Regions from separate parts of the Homo sapiens genome. Here regions 2, 3 and 4 are each linked to region 1. Evidence: promoter capture Hi-C in 16 types of primary human blood cells and fetal thymus (Javierre and others, 2016). All regions are on one chromosome and are shown on one strand. The core of a region is centred on a gene start or on the middle of the fragment in contact, and the rest is flanking DNA. Distances in the headings are between cores, read along the strand shown. Region 1 holds the start of CHPT1 (choline phosphotransferase 1). Region 2 overlaps GNPTAB (N-acetylglucosamine-1-phosphate transferase subunits alpha and beta). Region 3 overlaps GNPTAB (N-acetylglucosamine-1-phosphate transferase subunits alpha and beta). Region 4 has its middle 23 kb from the start of MYBPC1.

What was found. The method cuts DNA at HindIII sites, captures the fragments that hold promoters and counts their contacts. A CHiCAGO score of 5 or more calls a contact.
Region 2: a fragment that was not itself captured here is called in contact with the fragment with the promoter of CHPT1 in region 1 in 1 of 17 cell types (neutrophils); the score reaches 5.5 in neutrophils.
Region 3: a contact is called between a fragment that was not itself captured here and the fragment with the promoter of CHPT1 in region 1, in 3 of 17 cell types (total B cells, naive B cells and neutrophils). The highest score is 9.2, in total B cells.
Region 4: a contact is called between a fragment that was not itself captured here and the fragment with the promoter of CHPT1 in region 1, in 4 of 17 cell types (total B cells, naive B cells, M0 macrophages and 1 more). The highest score is 10.7, in total B cells.

What each region holds. Positions count from the first base shown.
Region 1 is chr12:101,696,379-101,699,078 of GRCh38, reverse strand. CHPT1 (choline phosphotransferase 1) reads right to left here and starts at 1,439. Exons shown (of 9, transcript NM_020244.3): 1 at 945-1,439. The coding sequence starts at 1,217. RefSeq lists silencers at 706-895, 1,156-1,495 and an enhancer at 1,716-1,965. The HindIII fragment of the contact is 18,657 bases long and covers 1-2,700 here.
Region 2 is chr12:101,797,954-101,800,653 of GRCh38, reverse strand. All of the region lies in intron 1 of GNPTAB (N-acetylglucosamine-1-phosphate transferase subunits alpha and beta), which reads left to right. Among named protein-coding and RNA genes, the nearest start is that of GNPTAB, 32 kb to the left of the region's middle. The HindIII fragment of the contact is 3,127 bases long and covers 1-2,700 here.
Region 3 is chr12:101,766,523-101,769,222 of GRCh38, reverse strand. GNPTAB (N-acetylglucosamine-1-phosphate transferase subunits alpha and beta) reads left to right here. Exons shown (of 21, transcript NM_024312.5): 11 at 1,063-1,186. Among named protein-coding and RNA genes, the nearest start is that of SYCP3, 28 kb to the right of the region's middle. RefSeq lists a cis regulatory region at 1,637 and an enhancer at 1,553-1,722. The HindIII fragment of the contact is 1,514 bases long and covers 601-2,114 here.
Region 4 is chr12:101,570,313-101,573,012 of GRCh38, reverse strand. No RefSeq gene overlaps it. Among named protein-coding and RNA genes, the nearest start is that of MYBPC1, 23 kb to the left of the region's middle. The HindIII fragment of the contact is 4,032 bases long and covers 1-2,700 here.

The sequences.
Region 1 (2,700 bases), core at 190-2,689:
CATGCATGGAGGGCATGAAATATTTCCACTGTATTTCTGTTAATCCAACCTCAACCTCCATGAGTCCTCCACAAGGCCTACACTCAAATGATTATAAAGGGACTTCACTATTTGGAGCAGAGAATAGAAAGTAATGTCACAGAATGTGCAATGTAATATTTATCCCACGTAGTATAAACTATAGATGGGAGTGAACTCCACTCTGCCCCCTATCCCTCCACACTCAGCCCAAAGGGTGCTTCTGATGAACAGCTATCCAAAGCCTATATTTACTCCTTATTTTGTACAAAGGTCAAATGTAATTATTGCTAATAAAATGTTGGGGTTTTTTTAATCCCTAGGTTGTGATGACAAAAAAATTATTGCCTTGATAACATTCCAGTTTGTTTTTCTTGAAAAAGTCGATGAAGCAAAGAGGAAGTTACCTCTTAACTCATCTTTGATCAGTGCTACCGGTCATTTCAAGATCACTAGCTCAACCTTCCAGAAACGAACGGTTACGAAAGTATTCAAAGGGCGTCTCGGGCTTGGCACAAGTCCCTGTGCCAGGCAGGACGGAGATGGGGGTGTTCAGTCCCCAGTGTGCAAAGCACCCGACCGCGGGTCCGTCTCACAGGTTGGCGCCGCATGGGATAGCGGCTGGGCAGGCGCCCTCCGGCCCGTCCGCGGCCGTGGGGAGGATCTGCGCGGACATAGGACCTGGGGCAGTGACCTTAACAGCCCCTCCGCTGCCCAGGGGAGGCTTGGGATGGTCACGGGATTGGGATAGTGGCGTGACAGTCTCCAGGCGGCCCAGGGCGGACACCGCCCGGGGCAGTGGCCAGTCCGCCCCTCCGGGGCCCGGGAGAGGCTCAGCCGCGCGTGGGTCCGCCCTTCCCCCGGCGCCTCCAGCGACCCGCCCGCAGCGCATCTGGGGCCCGGCTCGGGCGATCGGCCAGCCCTACCTCTTCGGTGGCCGTGGGACAGTAGGAGATGAGCACGAGCGTGGTGACCACGTTGACGGCGAGCCCCAGCAGGGTGATGGAGTTGGGGGCCATCCAGAGCGGGATCCACTGGAGCAGCCAGGTCCAGTAGAGCTGCAGCGGCGGCTCGAGCAGCGAGACGCCCGCCGCGCTGTAGCGGTGCTCCTCCAGTCGCCGCAGCTGCGCCGCGCTCAGCGGCTCGCTCAGCGCCCTCAGCCAGCGCGGCGCGGACCCGGCCCCGGCGCCTGCCGCCATGGCCGCCTGAGGGCCCCGCCGCCGCCACCGAGCGCAGCCCGCGCCTGGCGCTGGGGGCAGGGAGAGGTGGAGGGAGAGGCTGGCGGCCGGGTCCTGCGACTGCCGGGCTGGACTCACCGGTCGGGCCCGCACGGCGGAGGTCGAGGTCAGGCCGGCCTGCCCGGCTGCCGGGGCCCCAGCCCCAGAAGCTGTGGGGCCGCGGCTGCGGCTCGCGGGTGGGGCGGGGCCTCGGGGAGGGGTCCGGCTGGGGGCGGGGCGGAGGGGGTCCTGCTAGGGGCGGGGAGGCGGGTGCCGCGCTCGCGGGTCACCCTCGGCGCCCGCCAACGGCAACTTGTTATCGGCGATCAAGGTCCTTGACTCCCCAGGGGCCGGCTGCACTGCGCCTGAGGTCTGATGTCTTAACCCACGGCGTCGGATTACGCCCTGAGGTCGTCTCCTCGCGGGCTGCACCACGACCGAGCCGGTTCCTCTCCTAGGGGTCGGAACACGACTCCGGTCGCCCAGTGTTAGCCACTGCAGGACCACGCTGCCCGCAGAGCCTGGGGGTTTTCGTGTGAGAACACAGTTTTGCAGGGCTCGGGTCACGGGGGTGACGGCCCCATCTGTCCTGCTTGGTAAAACACACAAGCACAATTCTCCCTTTCTGTACGGAGGAAGGCGGCCCTGCCATGTATTCGCTCTAGAGACCCATCACTGCGGATTCAGAGACCAAGGTTTTGAAACTGAAAATCAGGGCTTAGAAACACTAACAAGGAGACCGAATGGCTGAAACCCCGATACCTATTTTCTTCAGCGCATTTGATACCAACAAGGGTGAATATTTTTACACATACTCTTCCCTGGAATAAAGGGCAGGAGTGTCCTCCCCCTGCAAGGGGGAACAGGCTGGCTTGCCACACGCATTGGTAGGTCACCGGCCCCTTATCTCACAGTGCACTCACTTGGACAGGGGACATCTGTCATAAACACGTTCTGTTGCACAACCTGAGACAGGCCTGTCACTTGCTTTGCTCTTCACTTCATGGCTCTGATCTGCACGCACTTTCTAAGGCCTAGGACAAGCCAGAAATTGCTTCCAAGACACTTGTGTGGCGCAACCTCTATCGGCAAGTGCAGTTTGCCTCACGGGCTTCGTCAAACACTTGGCACAGGGGTCCACGAACTGCTGCCTGTGTGCCAGACCCAGCCCACCACCTGTTTTCCTACAGCCCTCCAGCTAAGTATGGTTTTGACATTTTTAAATGATTGGAAAAAATCAAAAGAATACAATTTTGTGTTGTGAAATTATATGAAATTCAAAGTTCAGTGCCACGAATAAAGCCATGTTTATTCCTTACCTATTGTTTGGCTGCCTTCATGCTACAAGGGCAGCAGAATTCAGTTGTGACAGACCGTATGGCTGGCAAAGCCTGGACTATGTCCTACTAGGCCCTTTAAGGAAAAAACTGGCAACCACTGCCTTAGAGCAATGAGGGTCTCTACA
Region 2 (2,700 bases), core at 102-2,601, 100 kb before region 1:
GGCAACTGCCACCACGCCTGGCTGATTTTTTTTTTTTTTTTTTTTTTTTGTATTTTTAGTAGTGATGGGGTTTCACCATGTTGGCTAGGCTGATCTTGAACTCCTGACCTCAAGTGATCCTCCCTCCACGACCTCCCAAAGTGCTGGGATTACAGGCATGAGCCATTGCACCTAGCCCTAATTTTGTTCTAAGACAAGTTTGCGGACCCAAAAGATCTCCAGGATGGCCATCCAAATTAGTTTTGATGTTCTCTATCCATTGATTTAAAATTGTTCGCAAGAGAAGACCATAATTTTTTTTTAATTAAAAAATTTTTTATAATAGGGAAAAAATAGAGACGAGGTCTCACTGTGTTGCTCAGGCTGGTCTTGAGCTCCTGGGCTCAGGCGATCCTCCCAATTCATCCTCCCAAAGTGCTAGGACTACAGGTGTGAGCCACCACACCTGGCCAAAGATAATTTTTGAACATGTAGCTAGCTGGCAGAGGTCCCAGGAGAGGGACTATGATTGCATGCTTTAGCATTTTAGGATCCCATTCTGCTTCTCATTAATCTCCCAAGAGCAAAATAAGAACCTTATAAGCCCTGTCAGGGAATGTTTGGGGTTTGGACCAGTGTCCAACAAACTCAAGTACACGTACAAGTGTATGGAAACAAGTCAGAACAAAACCAAAACCAAAAGTTCTCTCTATTGGGGTTCTCTTCTACAACGTTGGCAATTCTTTCCATAGAGTACCATGTGTAATGAGCATTAAAGATCTTTATGCCCCTCCTCTTCCCTCCCACCCCCACCCCAAATCTAGAGGCTGATTAGAGATGCTGTGTTTTGCGGCAGGTAGACCACTTCAGTGCCTTCAGTGTTGAACTCATGGGGTTCTGGGTGGCCATGGGCATTGTCCAATCAAAAGAACTTTAATAGAAGTACTTACTGGCAAGGTACTTCCTGACTTCAGAGACAATGCATCCAAGGAACCAGTCCAGTAAAAGAACTCTTGTTCAGGTTTTCTTGTTGTACAACCAAAACACTGACTGTTGGTGTTAATTTTTTTCCATCAAGCCTTGGGGGTTAGCAGCATTACAGGTAAGGAAAGCCCAACAGCATTTGCACAAAACAGTAGAGTCAGCCTGTCCCTTCCCTTCCTGCTTTAAATCCTGATGCTTGCTTCTCTTCCTTACTAATAAATGTTCTTTGTCACATTTTTCCCATGATTAAATTTCATCTGTATTAAAAACATGTTCAGGCAGATATCCTTTCTCATCGATGATTTTCTTTGGGAACTGATCTTCTGCCTTTTGGTCTGCAGGTGCATCTCCTGTTATCTTGACATTTTTAAGCCAAATCTCTTTTTAAAATGATCAAACCAGTCTTTGCTGGCATTACATTCTCCTGCTTTAGACCCTTATTGTCCTTTTGCTTTAAGTTGTTATCTAACAACTTTGCTTTTTCTTGCATTATGTTAGTCTGTAGGTATGTGTTTCTTATAGCAATTCTGGACCCACGTTAAAGCGCATTTTCAATACAAGATAAAGAGGCATTTAGCAAAAAATGCAGTTTTCTAGCTGGGAGTGACAGCTTCATAATTTTTCATTGCCTTTTTTTTTAAAAAACAATGATTCTTAGCTAAATTCTTTTGTCTTGAAATGGCCAGCAACCACCACTGCAGACCTCAATCTATGGTACGTGTCAAACCATTCAACTTTTTCTTGTAATGACATGACTTTCCTCTGCTTCTTGGGAGCACTTCCATCGGCACTAGTGGCACTTTCTAAGAGTCCCATGATGTTCTTCGCAGTTTACGGTATTGCACTAAATATGAAAAATACGTAAGAAACATGAGAGATCACTTTTTACCGCAACATGCAGTTTACTAGAGAGACAAACTGCTCACGTGGAGATAATTAGTGTCACTACAGATACTCGCAACATGTGAGCTCGCTGCAATAGTAACAGGAGATGGGTACAAAATTATTTTAGTACAGTATATACTACAGTTGATTTTATTCGGTTATGATTTATTGCTGCATTTTTATGTTTGTTTACCTCTCTCAATTGCAAACGGTACCATGTACAGTCTGTGTTTGTATAAGTTTTGATACATTTTAACTTTTTATAATATAATAGATTTGTGTAAGTTCTGGATAATGAAAACAGAAGTGGTAGGTGCAGCTTCCATGATGTCTCCTTAAAGGTGGGGCATGTCTTTCCCTTTCCTTTCTGCAGTTGGAATGAATTCTAAATGCCTGGGCCCCACAGCCCATCTGAATGTAGCAGGGCCACTTCTTAGGGGCAGTGGAATAGGATGCTGGAGGAAGCCTGGTCAGGAAGGAGGGCATGTAGAGTAGAAGGAAAGGACACACAGAAAGATTAGATAGAAGGGAATGAGCTGGCAAAGGAGATGGAAAAGGAGCCACCAGGGCGACAGGAGGGAAAACCAAGAAAACATTTCCACAAAGAGGAACTGGGCAACTGCTATGAATACTTGAGTAAGAGATGAGGAAAATGCCGTTGAGTTTGACAATGTGGGGGCCTTGGTAAGGCCACTAAAGTGGTGAAAACATAAGTGATACTGGAGTGAGCTGAAGGGTGAGTGGGAAAGCAGGAGATGACCTTGAAAGGGACAGAAAATGTGGGGTAGAGGGACTCACTGGAATGGATATGGAGTGAAGGGAAGGTGTTCCCAAGGTACGGGAACATGTTTG
Region 3 (2,700 bases), core at 108-2,607, 70 kb before region 1:
GCTCTACCTCTGTGTTTTCTGGCATAGTGAGGAAAGTACAAATACCCTTGTAGCGTTGTTAGAAGGGTTCAGTGATAAGTTAGAGACTTATCACCGTAAACTTAGAAGTTATAAAACTCTGCAACTGTAAGTGCTAATAACACAAAACTACTTTGTCTGTAATTGTTTATGCTACCCAACCAGGCCCATTCTCCTGTTCCCCTATTGAGTTGTCTCCTCTGTATCAGACTGTAGGGCTCAAAGTTGAGCTTGTGGCTTAACAAGGGGACAAACAAGATCAATGACTGTGTGGTGCTTTTCCTGCTGACAGGTGTGCCTTGGTGCTGAGGAGTGTGAGCAAAGGAGGCTTAAATCAGATAGGATAGGGAAGAAAGCCCATCTGAATTGACATGTACTGAGAAGAACAAGTAAGAATTAGTTTAGGTTAAAAAAGACATTCCAATTAGAATATGCAAAGGCACAGAGATTTTTAAAGAGGAGTGTATTTTTTTTCAATGATTTTAAATTTGAAAAACCATGTACCCCATCACTAATTCTGAGAGCAGGTGAATGCACAGCTCAGAATGCTATGCCAGTTAATTTATCACAGGGCCTTAAGCTTGAAGAGAGAGGATATTGTCTCTCAGCCTTGAGACAAGATTATGCACAAATACACTAATGAGCTACTGATAGTTACAGAAAAGCAGTGACTGTGCATACTTCCCACCAGCTTTGACATGCTTTGGTACTTGCAGTCAAGTCTGGCATGGTGCTACTTTATTTCATAGTAGATTATCAAAGCATGTTATGAGAGACTAATCCATGAGTTGAATCCTTGTCTGCTTTCCTTGAGTAATGGAAAAAAAGTAAATACGCTCAGTAAGAACGGTCAACGCAGCAGGATCTAAACAATGACTGTAGGTACAGGCAAACTTAAAGCACTTGTGAGTGTGAACGCTGAGCCCTTTGAAAATTTTAATCTTTCTAGAGACTTAATTTCTTTTTATAAAGGGAATCTTAACTCAAGAATAAAATGTATCAGAAGCCAGAAGTCATTTTATTTTCTCTTTGGTTTTATCGTAGGTTTATTTGACATGGCCTGTGCCAAACTGTGCCGAGGGCTGCCCAGGTTCCTGGATTAAGGATGGCTATTGTGACAAGGCTTGTAATAATTCAGCCTGCGATTGGGATGGTGGGGATTGCTCTGGTAAGGATGTGTTAAACTGTAATTCGTTCATTTTTATGGAATATTTTCTTCTTAATCATTATTGAACATGTGCTATAGACTTAACCAAACATTCTTTATGTATTAATAAAGAATCAGTAATGCTGGGCATGGTGGCTCATGCTTATAATCCAGTGCTTTGCAAAGCTGAGCTGGGAGGAGTGCTTGAGGCCAGGAGTTCAAGACCAGCTTGGGCAACATAGTAAGACCCCATCTCTATCAAAAAAAATTAGCCAAGTGTGGTGGTGCAAACCTGTAGTCCTAGCTACTTGGGAGGCTAAGGCAAGAGGATCATTTGAGCCTAGGAGTTAGAGGCTGCTGTGAGCTGTGATTGCACCATTGTACTCTAACCTGGGCGGCAGAGTGACAGCCTCTCTCAAAACAAACAAATCAGTAATCAATGGACTCTTTGGAGGTGGTAATTAGTGCCCTCATGTGGCCCAGTTTATTCATTGTTGAGGGCATTGAACAAGAGAAAATACACTTGAAAATGTCTTCTTATTTAAAATATGAAAATCTGGAATACACTTATATAAATCCAAGAGCAAGAATCACTCTAACTGGTTCTTATAGGAGCTCACTGCTGGTAGCTTTCAGCAGCAGATTGTGATAGGTCACAGAATTACTAAAGAGTTGCAAAAGAAATAAGTATTTTCTCTCCTCAGCAGCTCTTCCCTCTCCCTCACATAGTTATATTTTGACTTGTTGATAATAGCAATTTGTTACATTTACTTACTACCTTTCAATTTATAAAGCATTAAATTTATAGAGCATTATTCATTATATTCACTTGAATTGTGTTTGTTACCTGAGAGAGAGAGAGAGTAAGTATGTACACAAATGTTATCATCCCCATTTCCATATGAAGAAATGGATTTGGAAATGTTTGAATATTGGAGAAAACAAAGCTTCAAGTTGTATTTCAGTCAGATATGTCAGATGCGCTTTAGCTGAGGAGAGAGAATACAGATGTGCAAAGTAGATCTGTGTAGACCAGAGAAGTCAGTCTCTACTGGAACATTAGCATTTGATAACAAGGGGTATCAAACATGTTACCCACGTTTGGACATGTTTTTGGCAGTTCTGATAGTCACAGTCTTTGGAATAATCTCTTCTTGTTTTCGTGCTCCTCCATTTCTGTCAGCACGTGCCCCTTGAGCAAATGTAAGCCCTGTACTTGTAGGTTGCACAGCTACAAAATGCCAGGGCCTGTTCATCACGCTTCTGTCAAGTGACTCCCTTTTACGTTTATTTTCTTCTTAAGGTATATGAGATCTTCTACTAAAGAATGAGGTGAACCTTTTCTGACTAAAACTTACACATCAACCTTGAAAACATCAATATGAAATAAGGAACTGTCTTTTTCGTTTTTTGTTTTTTGAGACGGAGTTTCACTCTTGTTGCCCAGGCTGGAGTGCAGTGGTGTAATCTTGGCTCAGTGCAACCTCCGCCTCCCGGGTTCAAGCAATTCTCCTGCCTCAGCCTCCCAAGTAGTT
Region 4 (2,700 bases), core at 150-2,649, 130 kb after region 1:
TGATGTTCCACTGTATAGATTTATCACAGTGTCTTTATCTATTCATTTGTCAATGGACTCTTAGGTTGTTTCCATATCTTGCTATTGTGACTAATGCTACAATGAACATGGTAGTGCACATATCTTTACAAAGCGGTGATTTCATTTTTGGGGGGTATATACCCAGAAGGAGGATTTCTAGGTCATGTGGTAGTACTATTTTTAGTTTCTTTAGGAACCTTCATTCTGCTTTTTTTATATGGCTACACCAATCTGTATTCCCACCAGCAGTGTAAAAGGGTTCCCTCTCCTACACACCCTCACCAACATTTGTTATCTCTTATCTTTTTTATGATAGCCCATCCTAGCTGGTGTGAGGCGACACAGTGGTTTCGATTAGTGATGTTGAGCACATTTTCATATACCTGTCGCCCATTTTTATGTCTCTTTTGGAGAAATGTCTATTAAATCCTTTACCCATTTTAGACTTTTAAGGGCTGAATAGCTGTAGCTGATTGGTCCAGAGGAATGATTCCCACAGATGTAGCTCGCTTTATGCAATAGGGGTATTTCGAAAAGGCCACTGTAAATATAACACCATCAAACCCAATAACTTTATAATTTCAAAAGGCCTATTCTTCATTTGTGGCTGCTCATTGACACGTCAGCTTTTTTGTCAAGTTGCTAATGATCTAAAACCATCAACATTAAATACACTAAGAAAGCTGATATAAAAGGAATTCTGCACTGAACAGTTTTATGGTTACTTTTAACAGCCTAATACCAAGCTGAGCATTGTATCATATTCTGTTTATAAGTCATACTAAAAATCAGTTTTCTCTCCCATTTCCTACCAAAGTTACCATATATCTTTCGTTTAAAATCTCAAGGTACAGTAAGGTGAAATTTTAGTGTTATATCAGACAGAGAATGAACAAGCAGATTTTTTTAAAACCCAAAGTTGTAGCTAAAAAAGAAAATGTGAAAAACACCTGTAAAACAATAAAATAAAAAAAAAAGAAAATGTGTTTGCATAAATAAGGGAGCAAATAATTCTACATTATTTAATTTCTTAAATGGAAAATTCACCACTTATTTTTTTCCCAATAACAATATCATGATGTTCTTGGAGCACAGGGGTCAACCTAAATGAGAACAAAAACAAAGATATTTGTTGTTTTATTGGGCCATATCACCTAATTGTTTATGAAATATTCTTCTATAATGGACTCTAACCTTAAATGCTCTATCTGGGGTTGAAAGGGAAAGAAGAGGAGGGGAAGAAGATCTGGATTTTTTTTTTTTTTGAGATGGAGTCTCTCTCTGTTGCCCAGGCTGGAGTGGGGCAATCTCAGCTCACTGCAACCTCCGCCTCCCGGGTTCAAGAGATTCTCCTGCCTCAGCCTCCCTAGTGGCTGGGATTACAGGTGCACACCACCATGCCCGGATAATTTTTGTAGAGTCAGGGTTTCACCACATTGGCCAAGCTGGTCTCGAACTCCTAACCTCAAGTAATCCCCCCTCCTTGGCCTCCCAAAGTGCTGGGATTACAGGCATGAGCCACTGCACCCGACCAGATCTGGATTTTTTTAAAAGAACTATACTTTTGCAGGCTATGGTGATGATAAGCAAATCCCATATGTGGTGGTACAAAATCTTCCCCAGAGGACTCAAAGAATTTTCACACATGGCATAGTTGGCCAAATGTATAATAAATTTGTTATTTTTTCCTTTCCAAACATACCCAAAAGCTCGTCTTTCTTATCTACTCCGAGAAAGCCTCACATGCTTGAAATGTTCTTTGAGACAAGAACTCTGTCAGGACATATCCATATTTATAGAAAGGGCAGGCTGGGTGTGACGGCTCATGCCTGTAATCCCAGCCCTTTGGGAGGCTAAGGTGGGAGGATCACTTGAGCCTGGGAATTCAAGACCAGCCTGGGCAACATAGCGTGTAACATCTCTACATTAAAAAAAAAAAAAAATTAGCTGGCCATGGTGGCATGTGCCTACAGTCCCAGCTTCTTGGGAAGCTGAGGCAGGGGGATTGCTTGAGCCCAGGAGGTTGAGGCTGCAGTGAGCTATGATTGAACCACTGCAATCCAGCCTGGGTGACAGAGCTAGACCCTGTCTCAAAAATTAATCCACAAGTAAAATAAAAAATAAAGAATATTAAACTCTTACACTCAGCCTTTCTTTTTTAAAGAAAACTAACACCTGCACATAGAGAACAACACAAAACAAACTGATGTGTTATCACGTTTTTCCCACTTAGAGTCTGCAGTTCCTGCCTTCCTCCATGGCCATTTTAATGCACATATTTATAGTTTTAATGAAATGGACATTATGTATATATTCATCCCATCAACTTCACATATTCAAGAGTAATTTTCTTAATATAATTGACTAAAACCACTCTCAACACAAAACCTTAAAGTCCTTGCAACTCTGCAGTCCCCTCTATAAACGGAGTAAATTCAGCCAAAATATGAGTCTGATATTTTTAAGAGAAAGAAGTCATTCTGCAGATGCAGAAAACCAATTTTCTCCTCTAGAATTTCCTGGTTTCTAAAGACAGAGAAAGAGAGACACTGGTTGAGAGGCCCTCCTATGGGGGAAGATTCTTCATCCCAAAATAAACTCTTCCTGCTCAAGTTAGAGCCTCGGGCTTAAAGTATCAGCATCCTGGAACTAGAACAATACAAACATGGGATAAGGGGA